6 separate regions of the Homo sapiens genome follow, and all the other regions are linked to region 4. The links are contacts of gene promoters, found by promoter capture Hi-C in blood cells and fetal thymus (Javierre and others, 2016). All regions are on one chromosome and are shown on one strand. Each heading gives the region's core, a stretch centred on a gene start or on the middle of the fragment in contact. The rest is flanking DNA. Distances are from core to core; before and after follow the strand shown. Region 1 overlaps BATF (basic leucine zipper ATF-like transcription factor). Region 2 overlaps TMED10 (transmembrane p24 trafficking protein 10). Region 3 overlaps LOC105370572 (a long non-coding RNA gene). Region 4 holds the start of LINC01220 (long intergenic non-protein coding RNA 1220). Region 5 holds the start of JDP2 (Jun dimerization protein 2). Region 6 overlaps NEK9 (NIMA related kinase 9).

Region 1 (2,700 bases), core at 75-2,574, 240 kb before region 4:
CTGATTCTCAACCCTGGCTGTGCACACTGCCAGCACCCGGAGAGCCTTAAACAGTCTGGATTCCTGGATGCCAGACCCCCAGAGGTTCCAATTTAATTGTTCTGGAGTGGTTGCAGGCATCAAGACTTTAAAAATGCTTCCTAAGTGAGCCAAATGGGCAAAAAATCATGTTCATAGTGGATTCCTTTTAATAATAACATAAGGCCAGGTGCAGTTGCTGTAATCCTAGCACTTTGGGAGGCTTCTTTGGCAGGAGGGTCATTTGAGCCCGGAAGTTTGAGACCAGCCTGGGCAACATAGTGATACCCAATCTTTACAAAAAATTTAAAAGTTAACCAGGCATAGTGGCACACACCTGTAGTCCCAGCTATTTGGGAGGCCAAGGTGGGAGGATCATTTGTGCCTGGGAGGTGGAGGCTGCAGTCAGCCATGATCGCACCACTGCACTCCAGCCTGGGAAAAGAGTGAAACCTTATCTCAAAATAATAAAAATATAACATAACTATATAGTGTTTGATTTTATTAAATTTGTTTGTTAACAAACAAATTAAATTTGTGAGACTTGCCCAGTTGTGAAAGGCCAAGCCCCTGAAACTACTGATATCCTTAAAGAGTTTATATTTTTACATATTTTCATTTTATTAAATATGTATTTTATTTTATCATTTATAGTATAATATTAAAAAATTTAAAGAGTTGGGAGACTATTTCTAGTTAAAAAAATTTCTAAAACAAAATGTCCATTTAAGCACACTACTATTATATTCTTAAATTGGTGGAAACAATTCTAAATAGTCCAGCACAGTTCATTCATATAATGGAAAGGCAAGAGCTCAGGGATCTATTCGTGTTTCATTAATTATAACTTTAACCGTTTCGTTTCCTTACCATTTACATTGTTGAGCTCTGTGAGGGCAGGAGCTATTATTGTCTTCACTGTTTTGTTCTCAGTGACAAGGACAGTGCCTGCCATAGAGTAAGTGTTCGATCAAATCACGTTGCTTGACTGCCAACTTATAATCTGGAATAATTTTCCAAAATCTGAGATGTGCCTATGAAGAAGGGTCAGCTGAGTAAATCTGTGATGTCCATGAGAATTCCTAGAGAGTGATTAACCACCACTCAAACACTTTAATAGCTTCTACTTTGTAAATCTGGGATACTTCCAAATGAATCCAAGAGATTCATTTTTTCAAAAGGCCTAGGTCAAACCTCTGTTTATTCCCCAAACTGAACCAACAGCGTGGGAGTGGCAGAATTACAACCACTTTAAGAACTTCGTCGTGCCATTTCCCTAGTTCAAATTTGACCCTCTCTCCATTCATACCCAACAAAGGAGACTTGCCTAGTTGTGAAAGGCCAAGCCCCTGAAACTACTGATATCCTTAAAGAGTTTATAAGCAACCAGAAAGAAGAACGTGTGTGTTCATGTAGGATAATATATCTGATTGATTTCTAGGAAAAGGGCAGGCTGTCTGCATTAAACAAAGGAACAGTGTAAAAAAAAAATGACAATATTGCTTTGTTCTTACATTTGCCCTCTCAATTAAACGGTCAAACAGCCTAGTGAGGTGCTATTGCTTCTCAACTTATGATCAGAGTTTAGGTTCAGAGAAATCCCCCAGGCAGGGTTTGAATTAGTTGGGTCCCCACCACATGCCCCATCCAGTTCCTGCTCCTAGCAGCACAATTGCCTTTATTTTATTTTATTTTATTTTATTTTATTTTATTTTAAAGACAGGATCTTGCCCTGTTGCCCAGGCTGGAGTGCAGTGGTGCTATCACAACTCACTGCAACCTCGACCTCTTGGACTTAAGCAAATCTCCCGCCTCAGCCTCCCAAGTAGGTGGGACCATAGGTGCATGCCTGGATATTTAAAAAAAATTTTTTTTTGTAGAGATGGGGTTTCACTGTGTTGCTCAGGCTGGTCTCGAACTCCTGGCCTCAAATGATCCAACCAACTCGGCCTCCCAAAGTGCTGGGATTACAGGTGTGAGCCACTGTGCTCAGCCCTACAATTGCCATTATTACTGAGTTCCTCCTCACTCCCTTATGGTCTTGAACTTGGTCTCCACCTTACCAAGCACCTTTCTGACCTTTGCCTGGCCTCGCAGCTTGGCCTCAAGGCTCTCTAGGCTGAGATCACCCTCTCCCCAGATCTTTCCAGTCTCCTCTTTGATTCACCTTTGATCTCAAATTCCAGGGCCTCAGGAAGGCCTCCCCTGATCGCTGCCCCAATCCCGTCCCTTAGACACTTTCCACATTGCATGATTTCATCTTCTTTGAAGCACTTTACATGTCATGTGATTAGTGTGTTTATTTGTTTTCCAGCCTGACTTCCAACTGACTGTAAGGTTCGTGAAATCAGAGACTCTGTCTGTCCTGTCCCTGCAATATTCTCAGTGCCTAGAACGAACTGTTCCTGGCTGATAAATATTTGTTGAGTAGATGAATCACTTCCGCTGATCTCAGCTCTAGTACTGATAATATGGCCTTTGCTTTATAATTTTCTGTGTCATCCTACTCTCTTAATGATAAGACATATTCTTATGCCAGCTGAGTACCCTTTTTTAGTTACAGGGTCCTCAGTTGCAGGAAATCACATTTTGGTCATAGGAATCCAGTCCCCTCTACTTGACTCTGAACTTTATCACTTCTGAGTTTTCATAAGAGCTTCATGTCATCTTTCTTGGTTTCCC
Region 2 (2,721 bases), core at 217-2,716, 140 kb after region 4:
CAGCACTTTCAGAGGCCAAGGCAGGTGGATCACGAGGTCAGGAGATCAAGACCATCCTGGCTAACACGGTGAAACCCCGTCTCTACCAAAAATACAAAAAATTAGCCGGGTGTGGTGGCATGTGCCTGTAATCCCAGCCACTTGGGAGGCTGGGGCAGGAGAATCGCTTGAACCCGGGAGGCAGAGGTTGCAGTAAGCCGAGATCGCATCACTGCACTCCAGCCTGGGTGACAGAGCGAGACTCTGTCTCAAAAATAAATAAATAAAAATAAATTTAAAAGTTTGACAAATTAGCAAATGGTGCTGGATGGCAGAAGACAGTTGACTAATACTACTGTTTATTAGGGAATTTAGAAGATGTGCCATAAAACTTTTTTTAGTTAATCTGTCATTTCAAATTTATCTAGTAGTGATAACTTTTCTTTAGTTATTATCAATTTTTTCCAAAATAAAATAACTTTATTATTATTTTTGAATATAAGTGATCCAGTGATACATGCCTTTTTTTTTTTTTTTTTTTTTTTTTTTTTGAGACAGAGTCTCGCTGTGTTGCCCAGGCTGGAGTGCAGTGGCACAGTCTCGGCTCACCGCAACTTCTGCCTCCCGGGTTCAAGCGATTATCCTGCCTCAGCCTCCAAAGTAGCTGGGATTACAGGCGCCCAATACCACTCCTGGCTAATTTTTTTTTTTTTTTGTATTTTTAGTAAAGACGGGGTTTCACCATGTTGGCCAGGCTGGTCTCAAACTCCTGACCTCAGGTGATCCACCTGCCTCGGCCTCCCAAAGTGCTGGGATTACAGGTGCGTGAGCCACTGCACCTGGCAGAGCTACCACGCCCGGCTACATGTCATTTTCAAAAAAGGCCGGGTGTGGTGGCTCACGCCTGTAACCCCAGCACTTTGGGAAGCCGAGGCGGGTTGGATTATGAGGTCAGGAGATCGAGACCATCCTGGCCAACACAGGGAAACCCTGTCTTTACTAAAAATACAAAAAAATTAGCTGGGCATGGTCGTGGGTGCCTGTAGTTCCAGCTACTCGGGAGGCTGAGGCAGGAGAATCACCTGAACCCGGGAGGCGGAGGTTGCAGAGAGCCGAGATCACGCCACTGCACTCCAGCCTGGGGACAGAGTGAGACTCCATTTCAAAAAAAAAAAGGGAAAAAAAAATAGAAAGTCTCACCCCTCAGAAATAACTACTGTTATAAAGTACTTTTAAATATATAAGCTTAAATGTGTGCTACTTAATTTTCCTGCTTAAAATTTCCCCTTAAAAGAATTATGTTTTAACAAATAGCATTAGAACATCCAGTTTAATGTAATTAAGCCACTACTTTTGTGTTCCACATTGCAAAGTAGCTTCCAGTCTTAAGTGATGAAATATGCTTTCTACTAAGACAGCCACGTGCTCTAGAAATGAAGGCTAAGATCCAGTCTGTTAAATTACCATGGAATTCCCTTGCTTTGTATGTGGCTGTTTACTTAGCAGTATATGCCCTTTATTCTGTGCTGATAGGCCATTCTTTGGTAATAGAGCAGCTTAAGTCTGAAGAGCTAAAGCTAAGGATCTAGAAGAAAGGAATAATCATTTATGGAAGCCAAAGATACCTTTTTTTTTTTAGGATAAATTTCTCTCCTTTTTGTTTTTGTTTTTGTTTTTTTGAGACAGAGTCTTGCTCTGTCACCCAGGCTGCAGTGACACGGCAAGCTTCCCAGTACCTGGGACTATAGGTGCGCACCACCATGCCTGGCTAATTTTTGTATTTTTTGTAGAGATGAGGTTTCGCCATGTTGGTCTTGAACACTTTTTTTTTGAGACAGAATCTCACTCTGTCATCTGGGCTGGAGTGCAGTGGCGCAATCTTGGCTCACTGCAACCTCCGCCTCCCAGGTTCAAGCGATTCTCCTGCCTCAGCCTCCTGAGTAGCTGGGACTACAGGCATATGCCACTGCGCCCAGCTGATTTTGGTATTTTTAGTAGAGACGAGGTTTCTCCATGTTGGTTGGCCAGGATGGTCTTGATCTCTTGACCTCGTGATCCATCCGCCTCGGCCTCCCAAAGTGCTGGGATTACAGGCGTGAGCCACCGCGCCCAGCCAGGTCTTGAACTCTTGAGCTCAAGTGATCCTCCTGCCTTGGCGTTCCAAAGTTTGGGATTACAGGCGTGAGCCACCATGCCTGGCCAGAAACTTCTTTTTTGTTTCCTGTGTTTTGTTCCCACTCTACCTGGCCGTTGACATAATTAACATGAAATTTGCAGGAATAGATCTCCTGGATTGTCTTCTCTATGTATGCTTTTCTTCCTGCTGTCCTTGTATTGTGTGTCCTAATTTTATTCTCCACCCACACCCCTTCCCCATCAAATTTGTTTTATAGAATAAATGTGTTTTTATATATCTTTGTCCCTCTTGTATAATCTTTTGATAATTGTCTACTTTCATTTTTGTGACATGTTCCTCTATGCGGAATGATACTAGTGAGTTTTTGCCAATAAATCCAATGTATGTAACTTGGAGCATTAGCTAGATTAACTTTTTGGTATGGTAAGACATCCTATAGCAGCAACAGATTTTAGCCCACAGTGTGATTAGGCTATTTGAATGGATGAAATTTGCTGTATTTGGATTTAATCTTCTAATCCAGTTTTTGTCTTTGGGGATGGTTGGAACATAGTCATCATAATGAGAACTATCAATTGTCTTTCATAGATAGTGTCTCTATCTTC
Region 3 (2,751 bases), core at 10-2,509, 230 kb before region 4:
TTAAGTAAGACAAAATTCCTTTCCTATGGAGGAAAATAAAGCAGGGTTGGAGGTTAGGGAATTCTGGGTGGTCAGAAGGGCCTTGCCCAAAGAGGGGATACCTGAGCAGAGATTCGAAGAAAGAGAGGGAGTGAATGGTGAGTGTCTCAGGGAAGGACATTCCAGGACCTGAGGTGGAAGTGTGCTTGAGTATTGGAAAAAGAGCAGGGGGGCCAGGTAGTTGGATATCAGAGGCAGCAAAAGTGGCAGGCGATGAGGTCAGTGAGGTAATGGCCCGGTCAGGGAGGGCCTTAGAGGCCAACATCAGGATTTTAGCTTTCATTCTGAAAGACACAGTGAGCCCATGGAGGGTTTCCCCTTCCACCTTCATTCTTATCCTCTACCTCAGCTACTATTCATTTCTCCCATAGCAGTTACCCAATTTTATACTTATTTTATTCGTTTACTGATTTATCTTTTTCCTGTTTCCCTCAATAGAATGTTAAAACCATTTACACCTTTATTAATATATTCAACAAACGTTCATGGTGCATCTACCATGTGCCAGGCACTAAGTACTGAGGATACAGTTAGTAAAAAGAAGCTTGACTTTTTGTCTAAATGAGATAGTCTATCAGTGTTCGCTGCCCAAAAAACTACCAGAAACTTCGATGACTCAAGCCATTTATTTGGCTCATGAGTCTGTGGGTCATCTGAAAGGTTCTTTGGGGATAGGCTGGGCTAGGCTGATCTCGGCTAGGCTCGGTCATGTGTCCTCAGACAGCTGGTAGGTTGGCTGATAATTGACTGGTCTGGCCTGGCTTTGCCTTGGGCATTTCTCCTCCACATGGTCTCTCATCCACCAACAGGCTGGTCGGAGCATGTTTATTTGATAGTGGCAGGATTCCAAGAGTAGGAGCAGAAGCATTCGAAGCCCCATGGAACCCAGGCTCAGAGCTAGCACAGAACTCAGAACCTGCCACATTCTATTGGCCGAGGAGAGTCACAAGGCCAGTTCAGACTCAATGAGTTGAGAAACAGACTTCACTTCTCGATAGGAAAAATTTAACTAATTGTGGCAATTTCTACAATCTCCTACAGATGAGAAGCCATTGGAGGTGTCAGAGCAGAGGAGTGACATGATCTGACTTAGGTTTTTAGAGGATCTCTCTGGACACAGTTGAGATTTTACGATAGGGGAGCAAAGTGGAAGCAGGGAGATGAGTCAGGATTTCAGTATTGGATTACTGCAACCATCCAAACAAAAGATGCTGGCAGCATAGGCCAGTTAGACAGTGATGAAAGTGGTGAGAAGTGGGCCCTGTAAAAACCAAAGTCTGTGTTTCTCTTGTTTATAGTCATATGCTCAGTACCTAACAGATGCCGAGTAAATGGTTTTCAAACGAATGAATGCATAAGTGAATTCACTTTGCTCTTCATTTATGGCACTTATGACCTGCATTATCCTAGTGTATTGAAAGCCCTTTCAGGACAATAATAGTCATATTTATGTTTCATTCGGTTTAAATTAACATTTATTTATCACCTATTACAGAGCAGAATTCTTAAATATGAATAAGACAGAGACTCTGCTCTCACAGAAAAAAGAAAACATAGTCAAATAACCAAACAGGTTATTATAAATGTTACAAGCGTTCTAAGTATTACAGCGTATGGATGAAGTTCTTAGCTCTTTGAACATCCTATCATTCAACAAGTAAACACTTGTTGAATGAATGATTGCTTGATTCTGTCATTCCCAATCAATGTACTGATTTAATATTTAACAGAGACTAATGAGAGAAATGCAAAATTAGTTTTTACATAAAAAGACGGGTCTTATTTAATAGTATTAATTATACATTATTTTTAAATATTTAAGATTAAAAAATAATAAACACTTATGTAGCCACCATTAAGCTGAAGAAATAAATTATGAATAGAGCCGAAGCTTCCTTCATCCCTTTCTAATTCCGCTTCCTCCCCACCCCAGGTAACCCATTATCCAGATGTGGGGTTTATCATTCTTATGCATTTTTCTATACTTGAACCAAACCTGTATGTATGCCTAAGCAATATATAATATTGTCCTGCAGGATTTTAAACTTTTTACCTTGCTAATATTTTTTATTTGATTTTCAGCATTGTATCTGAATGGTAATGGCAAGGTTTGGGATATACACATCCCACTGATGTTATCCTGGAGAACTCCAGGAAGCTACCAAGTAACAGTTATAATAAAACTGGCATGCGCTCAGTGAACATCAGCCTAAAGCCTAAAGATAGTATTAAGGTAGTGGTTGCTGGATACTACAAACCCTTATGCTGACAGCTGGCTGATATAGGGCCTGGTACAAACTAGAAAACAGCGCCACCTCTAGGTAGGCAACCTCATACCAAAGCGTATGGCCTGGCAAGCCCTCACTTGACCTCTCAGGTTGGAGCCCTTGAACAGTGAACAACCTGCACAACTATACCTAGCATCCTTGCCATATGCTACTTACTGTGTACCGGGAATAGTATATGAATTGGCTCCATTTAATTCTCATGACAGTCACAGGAGGTAAGCACCGTTTCCCCACCTCACCCCATTTTATGTATGTGGAATATTGAGGCACAAGGAGATTAGGTAACATTCCCAAGATCATACAGCTAGAAAAGTCACTGGAGCTAGGACTCAAACTCAGGCAATTTGGTTCAATGCTTATAAGCACCATGCTCTACCACATCTCATTTTAATCTTCCCCAGGATTCCACAGAGCAGGTATCATA
Region 4 (2,700 bases), core at 139-2,638:
TTAGGAAGTACACAATTCTTGGCCATCCCCCCCAGGCCCTGGTGTCATGGTGTGGGCTGCGTGTGGCAGCAGACGTGACAATGGCGTTCTTTAAGAGCCCTGAAGTCAATATTTAGCCTAAATGTACAACCCACCAGCTGAGCCAGGCAACAGGGTTCTGAAGCACAGGAAATTAGAAGCACCTAGGCGATGTGGAACACTATTTGAAGCTAGATATCCTGACTTTTATCAGTTTCTAACTAGCTGTGCAAGTTTGGATGGTCGAACCAACTTCTCTGAGCTTTAATTTCCCTGTTGGCGAAATAGGTTAAATTAGATTAAAAGTCTCCGATGTGACTTCCAGCTCTGAAACTCTGGAAAACACACACTCCTTCAGCCAGAGGAACTGGGGAATCTAGGGGGCAGGGATGGGGGTGGGAGGATGGTGACAGGCGTCTTGAAGGATTAACCCCACGCTTCTCCTCGCAATTGCAATCGGCTCCCCAGCAGCGGCCACTGCGGCACTGCCTGCCCCACCCCCGCCCTCTGGGCCCGGCGGTACACACCCACGGCTCCCTCAGAGACTTCTGGAATCTCGCTGGATTTCTCCCAGGAATGCTTATTGCCCTTTAGATCTGCAAATCGCTTTACATCAGCAACCCTGCCGCGCGATTATTAATCATCTCAATATTCTCCCCCATCCCCTACCCTCCCCCTCGCCCGGCCTGGAAGAGGAATTGCAGGGGTCCGGATTTATGAAGGTGATTCGTATTATTCATTCAATAATCAGTTAACTAAAGTTCATTAAGCGCCTAATAGGAGCAAGGTGCAGAGACACACAAATCCAATCACCACAGGGGGCAGAACTGTAGGGGGTCGATGCTCAAAGAACTTCACTGATATTCCAGTTATGTCCTGGGGAGGGGGTGGTTAGAGGGTGATGGAAAAGCTCCCCTCACAAGCCTGATGACAGTGCTGCAACCATTATGGACCACCCCCACGGTTCGTTTTATCATGCCAGGAAAAGGAAAATGGCCTTCCCAAGGTCACTTATCCCCCGAGGGGCAACACTGACCCCAGAACCGCCGTCTTCAAAGCTTTCCACTGTGCCATGAAGGAAAATTTTGAGTTGAAGCCTATAAAATACAGCGTTGGGCGAGAGATGGCATGATTTCCGGGCACAGAGTGAGAAAATCGTGATCCCAGATCACCCACCCACAACAAACGAGACCGCCCCAAATCTTGACTGCAGCTACAACCAGCAGACGCACAGGAATGCTGGAAACAGCTCATTCATCCATCGCGGCGCCCTCTCTCTGGGCCCCCAGCGCCCCTGCCCTTGCCTCCGCCTGGGTGGGTCCCGGGACAGGAGGCGGGGGTCTCGTGGCTCGGAGCCTTCGCCCAGCATTCCAGGGGCGGGGCAGGGACCGGGGGCGGGGCGCGGCGGGAGTCCCGCCCACAGCCTACCCCGGGCCGGCGGCGCAGTGGCTGAGCCAAATATGGGCAGAGCGGAAGCGGCGGGCCGGCGTCACGGCGCCGGGTGGGGGCCGCGCTGCGGGGCGGTGACGGGAGTCGCTGACGGCGCCTACGTGTCACCGTGGAAACCAAACAGTAAACAGAGGACTCGCGAGCTCCTGGCACCGTCTGGCCCTGCGACCTGCCCTGGAGCAAAGGGCCGGAAGCTGGGAAGGGCCAGGAGAAACCTTGGCCTGGCCGACGAGGACAGGGGCGCGGCAAGGGTGTAGAGAGGGCGGTGGAGGGGACGCTGAGAGAGCACTCCCAAACGTCCCTCCCTGAGGTCCCTGGAAGCCGGCTCTCCCTCTGCCCACGGGCCAGCAGGGGCTGGTCAGGAGCGGAAGGAGGCCCTCCTGTCCCTTCTTTTTCTTTTCCTTTGTTTTTTTTTTTTTTTTTTTTTTTTTTTTTGAGATGGAGTCACGCTCTATCGCCCAGGCTGGAGTGCACTGGCGCGATCTCTGCTCACTGCAACCTCTGCCTCCCGGTTCAAGCGATTCTCCCGCCCCAGGCTCCCAAGTAGCTGGAACTACAGGCGCGCGCCACCGTACCCGGCTAATTTTTTACATTTTTAGTAGAGACAGGATTTCACCACGTTGGCCAGGTTGGTCTCCAACTCCTGACCTCAGGTGATCCGCCCGCCTCGGCCTCCCAAAGTGCTGGGATTACCGCGCCCGGCCTCTCCTGTCCCTTCTGAGGGCCTCCGTGCCTGCAAGGTTGTTGCGGATACTGATTTTGCTTTGTTTTTCCTTTCTAATGGCTAAGAGTTCAGGCATTGAAGCCACACTGCCTGGACTCTAATTCCAGCGCTGCCACTCCAGTTGGATGATCTTGAGCAGACCTCTGCGCCCCAGACTATATTATTATCTACAAAAATAAGGATAATAGCAGGACCTACCTTTAAGAGTAGATGAGGACTTTTAAAATGAGTGTGTGTGTGTGTGTGTGTGTGTGTGTGTGTGTGTGTGTTTGGAACAGTGTCAAGCATGTTGTGAGCCCCAAGTTAGTGTTAAGTGTTTATTTTTATTCCCAGGCAGCACAAGAGAAACTTACGTAGTATTAGTAGTGCATCTCCTAAATCTACTACTGACGTAATGTTTTTTTTCTCGAGTCTTCTTTAGATTTAAAATAAAAGGGGGCCGGGCGCTGTGGCCCACGCCTGTAATCCCAGCACTTTGGGAGGCCAAGGCAGGAGGATCACTTGAACCT
Region 5 (2,700 bases), core at 177-2,676, 130 kb before region 4:
AAGCTTCCCAATTCCTGATGCTCCTCCAATTAAGACCCTAGGGAGAGACCACCAAGATTTAAGCCTGGGTACACACGCCTAAGCAGGCTGCAAGCCCTTTCTGAGATATAGACCTGAGCACATTTGCCCTGAGCACACGTGGTCGGGCCATAGCCCCATGCCCTGGATTCCAACAGGGAGGGCAGCACCCTGGGCAAGGGCCACGCCATCTTGCAACTGGAGATGACCCAAGGGGGTCGGCTGATTTCTCCTTCCACCAGCCTCTCCATCCCTGCAAAAGAGCCAGGACCTCCCCATCTTCCCCAGCCTCCTCATCTTCCCTGCTCCTCCTACTGACCCAGGCAAAGCCTGGCTCTGCCATCCCAGGGTCCAGGGATCCAGGTGGAAGGCCCAATCCACCCCTACACTCTCCCACCCCCCACTGCACCCCTACCCCTCGACAACCTCCTTTGAAGGGAGGAGCAGAGGAGAGCCTTCTAAGCTGGGCTGGGCAAGGGAGAGGCTGGTTACCTACAGGAGCCTGCTTGCCTCCTTATATAACCTGGCGTGGGAGACAGGAGAGCCCAAAGGGGACCCCGGCCACCCCTAGATCCCCTCCCAGCCCAGAGCTCCGAAGCAATGGCCATGAGAGAAGCTGCCTTCATTGGATGGAAATCCCGAGCCCTTCTCAATACTCTCCTCCGGGTCCGGGTCCTCCGGGAGTCGCGCTTCCTCACTGCCAGGAGGTCCTTGTCATCCCTCCACAATCTAACCCCGACCCCAACCCCGCACCTCCCTGGCCCTTCACCCTCCACCTCCACCCGCACAGCCCATCTCCGCGGGCACTTTTCTCCCCACTCACCCCGCCTTCCCCGCCGCCCGAGGAGAGCACCTCCCTGCAAACGGACGGGGGAGGAGAGCGCGGGAGGGAGAAGGAGGGAGCACCCCGGCTGTCCAGGGAGCGGACGGAGCCTCCCGTCCCGGGGCGGGAACCAAAAGGAAGCCTCAGGCTGCCGGGCGCCTCGCGGGAGGGGCCCGGCTGCAGCGCCCGGCGCGGGGAAAGCTCGAGGTCCCTGGGCTGCGGGAGCCTCCCCGCGGGGCTGGGCTGGGGCTCCTCGCGCTCCGCCCGTGCGGGGGCGGCCGTCCCAGGTGCCCGCGCCGCGCCCTGCCCCGCCCCGCCCGTCCCGGCGCCCCCAGCGCGCGCCCTCGCACCCACCGTGCAGAAGGTGCGGGGGGAGGCGGCGCCCCCGGGGCCGGGGCCCGGCTGCAGGCGCCGTGCCCGCTCCGCGCCGCTGCCGCCCGGCCGCGGAGCTCCGCCCGGTGCCCAGGCCTGTCCCGGCCCGGGAGCCGCCGCGGCGCCAGCCCCGCCGCCGCTGCAGCGTCCGCCGCCGCCAGCGCCCCCCGTCGCGGCCGCCGAGCGTCCCTCCCGCAGGCTGTGGCGGGCGGCGGGACGGGTTGCATCAGCCCCGGCTATATAGCGGCCCCTGGGCGGCGGGGAGGGGTCGGGAATGCGGAACCGGCCGAGCTGCCAGCTCCAGACGTCAGAGGGGGACGGAGAGGAAGGGAAGGAGGGGACCGGGGAGGAGGGGGTGTGGAGCCGGCGCTTCACACCCACTGACCTTAACCTCCCCCGCCGCCTTGGGCGCCCTCCTCCCGCGGCCGCTCGCGCTCCTCTCCCCGCGGGGGCGTCCCGGGTTCCATGCAGTCCCCCGGCTCCGCCACCCCACGGTGCAGGAGCGCTCGAGAAAGCAGGACGCGGCGAGCGGTTATGTAAGCGCACCCCCCGCGCACCGCCGCCCGGCTTGTGCCCGCCAGGCAGCAGCAGCCGCAGCCCTAGGAGAGAGACGCGAGAGGCCGGAGCCGGGGGAAAAGTCAAAAGCCCCTTCACGCACAGCCTGTGTTAACCATGTACCTCAGTCCCGGCGCTTCCCCCACAAACTGAGAGCGACAGGGAGAATTTCCGCACAGTTTCATCCTTGGACACTTCAGGACTGAGCGGGTGAGGAGGCGATCTCGCCAGCCTGCTTTATTTTTCGGTGGAGAAGGATGGGCTGAGATGAAGGCATTTGGGGACTCCTACCCCTACCCACCGGCCCCCGCCAGCGCCCTTAGGCCCCGAGACGGCTGGCTGCACCAGCCTGACCTCTGCTAGGGCTGCAGCCTGAGACCGCGGCTTGCTCTACTGCTGGCGCAGTTTGACCCTTGGGCTTGTACCCTGCTCCAGCGGGCTTCTCCTTTCCACTCCGGACACAGCAGTGAGCAGACCCAGCCCTCAGCAGACCCCAAGTGGCCTTCTTCCCCGTTCCAGCTTCAATAGCCAACCCCACTCCCACCTTCCATCCTTCTAGAGAGGAAATGGTGAAGGGGACTCCAGAGGGAAGGCGACATCCATGGTGCCCTCCAGTATACAAAGGCAGAGACACAGAGCCCTCAGGTAGAACGGGGTTCCCTAGATGGCATCTCCTACCTCCAGAGCTCCTGGGTACCCATCGAGCCCCCTACCTTCTGCCTAAGCCAGATAGGAGTGACGATTTTTATACTCAGCGACTTTCGGCCTCCTTCTGAGAGTGATGTCAGGTCATCACCCATAGAAGAAAGGAAGTGAAAGAAAAAGTTCATGCCTTCTTGGAGTGCAGATGCTCAGAGTGAAAGAAACAACAAGACTTGAGACAGATGGGTGCCATTGAGCAAACCCGAACATGCATGTCTCTCTCATGTGAG
Region 6 (2,700 bases), core at 162-2,661, 200 kb after region 4:
TATAAAATTAAACAGAATGGTTTCATCTGGGTAGGAGGCCAGAGAAGGAAGGAATTCACACGGCAAATACAGTGATATAGGTAATGCTCTAGTTCAGCAGTGTCCAGTAGATCTTTTTGCAACAATGGAAATGTTCCATATCGGTGCTGTTCAGTATAGTAGCTACCAGCTTTCTGTGGCTATTGAGCACTCCAGAGAGTGGCTTGTGTGACTGAGGAACTGAATTTTTAATTCTCTTTAAGTTTAAGCGGGCACATATGGCTAGTAACTCATATTGGATAGTGCAATTCTAGTTCTAGTGGCAAATAGACCTATGTTTATTGTTAGGCATGAAAATTTACACGTATGTTAAAATAGTCTTAGGTATATCTAAAATGCAGCATAATCTTAAAAAGCCATTTAAAACAAAAAGTAAGCTTCAGAACTCACTTTGGTAACTATAGTTCTGCTGCTTCCGTAGGATCTCAGCATGACCCAGTTAGTCCCCAGGCCAGCACAGCAGGTGATAATTAACCCTTCTTTACATTTAGCCTCAGAAAATACCAGGCATCAGAACAAGGATCCCTGAGGAGTAAGAGAAAAAAAAAAAGAAAATACCAGGCAATTTTTCTTTAACTTTGACAGATTAATCTTCTTAATTATATTTTTATTTGGCCCATATTAAAATTCAGTTTCATTTCCTGACCACACATCAGCTAGTCTTCATTAAGGTTGCTTGGAATATGCTGTATGATATGAAAGAATCAGCCATTATATTATAAAAATGGATACAGATAGTCGTCAGAGAATGTAATATTCACATTAAATTTTGAAGAATTGGCCGGGCGCAGTGGCTGACGCCTGTAATCCCAGCACTTTGGGAGGCCGAGGCGGGTGGATCACTTGAGGTCAGGAATTCAAGGCCAGCCTGGCCAACATGGTGAAACCCTGTCTTTACTGAAAATACAAAAATTAGCCAGGCATGGTGGCGGGCACCTGTAATCCCAGCTACTCAGGAGGCTGAGGCACGAGAATCACTTGAAGCCAGGAGGCGGAGGTTGCAGTGAGCCAAGATCGTGCCACTGCACTCTAGCCTGGATGACAGAATGAAACTGTGCCTCAAAAAAAAAAAATTGCTGGGTGCAGTGGCTCACGCCTGTAATCCCAGCACTTTGGGAGGCCAAGGTAGGTGGATCACCTGAGTTCGAGACCAGCCTGGCCAACATAGTGAAACCCCGCCTCTACTAAAAATACAAAACTTAGCTGGGCATGGTGGTGTGTGCCTGTAATCCCAGCTACTCGGGAGGCTGAGACAGGAGAATTGCTTGAACCTGGGAGGCAGAGGTTGCAGTGAGCCAAGATCGGGCCACTGCACTCCAGCCTGAGCAACAGAAGCTAGACTCGGTCTCAAATAAAAAAAAAAAAGTTGAAGAATTCAACATTCAGATTTTCCCCGGACAGGGAGTTAATGGTAAGTTTATCTGGCAACTTTAAGAGGAGTTTGGCTCAAATATTAAAGACCTTTTTATATAAGATAAGTGTCTATGGAGGATGCTGGAATCTGAATGTATCTCTTAAAGAAGCAGAGTAAGCATGGGTGCTAGATTTGGTGGGCTGTGGTTGGGGGGATTGTTTGGTAATGCTTTTAGAATATTGATAACCTGCTATGGATACAAGATAAACAAAGTTGGTAAATGGAAGTGAATTATCATTATGAGCATCCTGATATACAAATACAACTATACAAAATTACAAAACATAGTTTGTATGAAAACCAAAAATTTAGTCCCTAACATTTGACTTGCACTGTTGCCATTGCACTTCATGCAGCTTATAGGCACCTTTCCAGGGTAAGTAGGGTTGTCAAATGGTAAATCTGTCTTGCTGCATAGCAAAGCTGTCTATTTCTGTGCTGTATATCTGTCAGTGTTTCAGAGCTCTAGCCCGGGAGGAGGCGGCGGGGGCGGCGGTGGTGAAGAAGAGGACAGTCAGCAGGAATCTGAAACTCCTGACCCAAGTGGAGGCTTCCGAGGAACAATGGAAGCAGACCGAGGAATGGAAGGTTTAATCAGTCCCACAGAGGCCATGGGGAACAGTAATGGGGCCAGCAGCTCCTGTCCTGGCTGGCTTCGAAAGGTAATTCCTTTGGAAGAAGTAACTTGGATAAAATATGTGGCCCTTTGCAGGAACTAGAAAGAGCTGTCAGGGTCTCTCAGTTTTCCAAGTACCTAGTAAACTGTTGTGCATCCTGAATCCAGCCTTCTGATTTCTACCTGGAAAGAAATTGCCTAATCACTAATCCTTTTTTCTTTCCAAAAAGATAAAAAATGTTCTCATACCCTTGTTACTTAAGTGAATGTATTATAAGTTACTATAACCTACCTTGATGGCAGTTTTTGTAGTACATGTATATAAAGATTAAGCTTACAGATTTTATACTGTCATTTATAGAAATGGAATATTGGAGCAGTTGGAATGCCTTACAATAGGAAAATGGTTGATGAAAGTTGAGATACAGAAAGTAAAAATGTTGGATTGGGCACAGTGGCTCATGCCTATAATTCCAGCACTTTGGGAGGCTGAGGCAGGAGGATCACTTGAGCCTAGGAGCTCAAGACCAGCTTGGGCAACACAGCAAGACCTTGTCTGTACCAAAAATTTAAAAAATTAGCCGGGTGTAGTAGTGTGCACCTATAGTTCCAGCTACTCAGGAGGCTGAGG

The links. The method cuts DNA at HindIII sites, captures the fragments that hold promoters and counts their contacts. A CHiCAGO score of 5 or more calls a contact.
Region 1: a contact is called between a fragment that was not itself captured here and the fragment with the promoter of LINC01220 in region 4, in 1 of 17 cell types (activated CD4 T cells). The highest score is 9.0, in activated CD4 T cells.
Region 2: a contact is called between a fragment that was not itself captured here and the fragment with the promoter of LINC01220 in region 4, in 14 of 17 cell types (total CD8 T cells, activated CD4 T cells, total B cells and 11 more). The highest score is 19.0, in total CD8 T cells.
Region 3: a fragment that was not itself captured here is called in contact with the fragment with the promoter of LINC01220 in region 4 in 2 of 17 cell types (activated CD4 T cells and naive CD4 T cells); the score reaches 7.3 in activated CD4 T cells.
Region 5: the fragment with the promoter of JDP2 here is called in contact with the fragment with the promoter of LINC01220 in region 4 in 1 of 17 cell types (monocytes); the score reaches 13.5 in monocytes.
Region 6: a fragment that was not itself captured here is called in contact with the fragment with the promoter of LINC01220 in region 4 in 2 of 17 cell types (endothelial precursors and activated CD4 T cells); the score reaches 6.2 in endothelial precursors.

Annotation. Positions count from the first base shown.
Region 1 is chr14:75,535,757-75,538,456 of GRCh38, reverse strand. All of the region lies in intron 2 of BATF (basic leucine zipper ATF-like transcription factor), which reads right to left. Among named protein-coding and RNA genes, the nearest start is that of BATF, 15 kb to the right of the region's middle. The HindIII fragment of the contact is 5,692 bases long and covers 1-2,700 here.
Region 2 is chr14:75,152,211-75,154,931 of GRCh38, reverse strand. The region is part of intron 1 of TMED10 (transmembrane p24 trafficking protein 10); the gene reads left to right. Among named protein-coding and RNA genes, the nearest start is that of TMED10, 23 kb to the left of the region's middle. RefSeq lists an enhancer at 1,904-2,568. The HindIII fragment of the contact is 480 bases long and covers 1,227-1,706 here.
Region 3 is chr14:75,518,520-75,521,270 of GRCh38, reverse strand. LOC105370572 (a long non-coding RNA gene) reads right to left here. Exons shown (of 3, transcript XR_944037.3): 3 at 1,497-2,751. Among named protein-coding and RNA genes, the nearest start is that of BATF, 2.6 kb to the left of the region's middle. The HindIII fragment of the contact is 1,347 bases long and covers 586-1,932 here.
Region 4 is chr14:75,293,092-75,295,791 of GRCh38, reverse strand. It overlaps LINC01220 (long intergenic non-protein coding RNA 1220), which reads right to left and starts at 1,388. Exons shown (of 3, transcript NR_038421.1): 1 at 1,251-1,388; 2 at 1,055-1,115. RefSeq lists a silencer at 1,151-1,610 and an enhancer at 1,681-1,820. The HindIII fragment of the contact is 10,176 bases long and covers 1,079-2,700 here.
Region 5 is chr14:75,426,748-75,429,447 of GRCh38, reverse strand. JDP2 (Jun dimerization protein 2) reads right to left here and starts at 1,426. Exons shown (of 4, transcript NM_001135048.2): 1 at 1,196-1,426. It overlaps JDP2-AS1 (JDP2 antisense RNA 1), which reads left to right and starts at 1,793. Exons shown (of 2, transcript NR_184172.1): 1 at 1,793-1,978. RefSeq lists silencers at 778-947, 1,008-1,187, 1,438-1,707 and enhancers at 1,373-1,930, 1,898-1,957, 1,978-2,307, 2,558-2,657. The HindIII fragment of the contact is 6,934 bases long and covers 6-2,700 here.
Region 6 is chr14:75,090,685-75,093,384 of GRCh38, reverse strand. It overlaps NEK9 (NIMA related kinase 9), which reads left to right. Exons shown (of 22, transcript NM_033116.6): 19 at 1,907-2,115. Among named protein-coding and RNA genes, the nearest start is that of ZC2HC1C, 22 kb to the right of the region's middle. The HindIII fragment of the contact is 1,986 bases long and covers 419-2,404 here.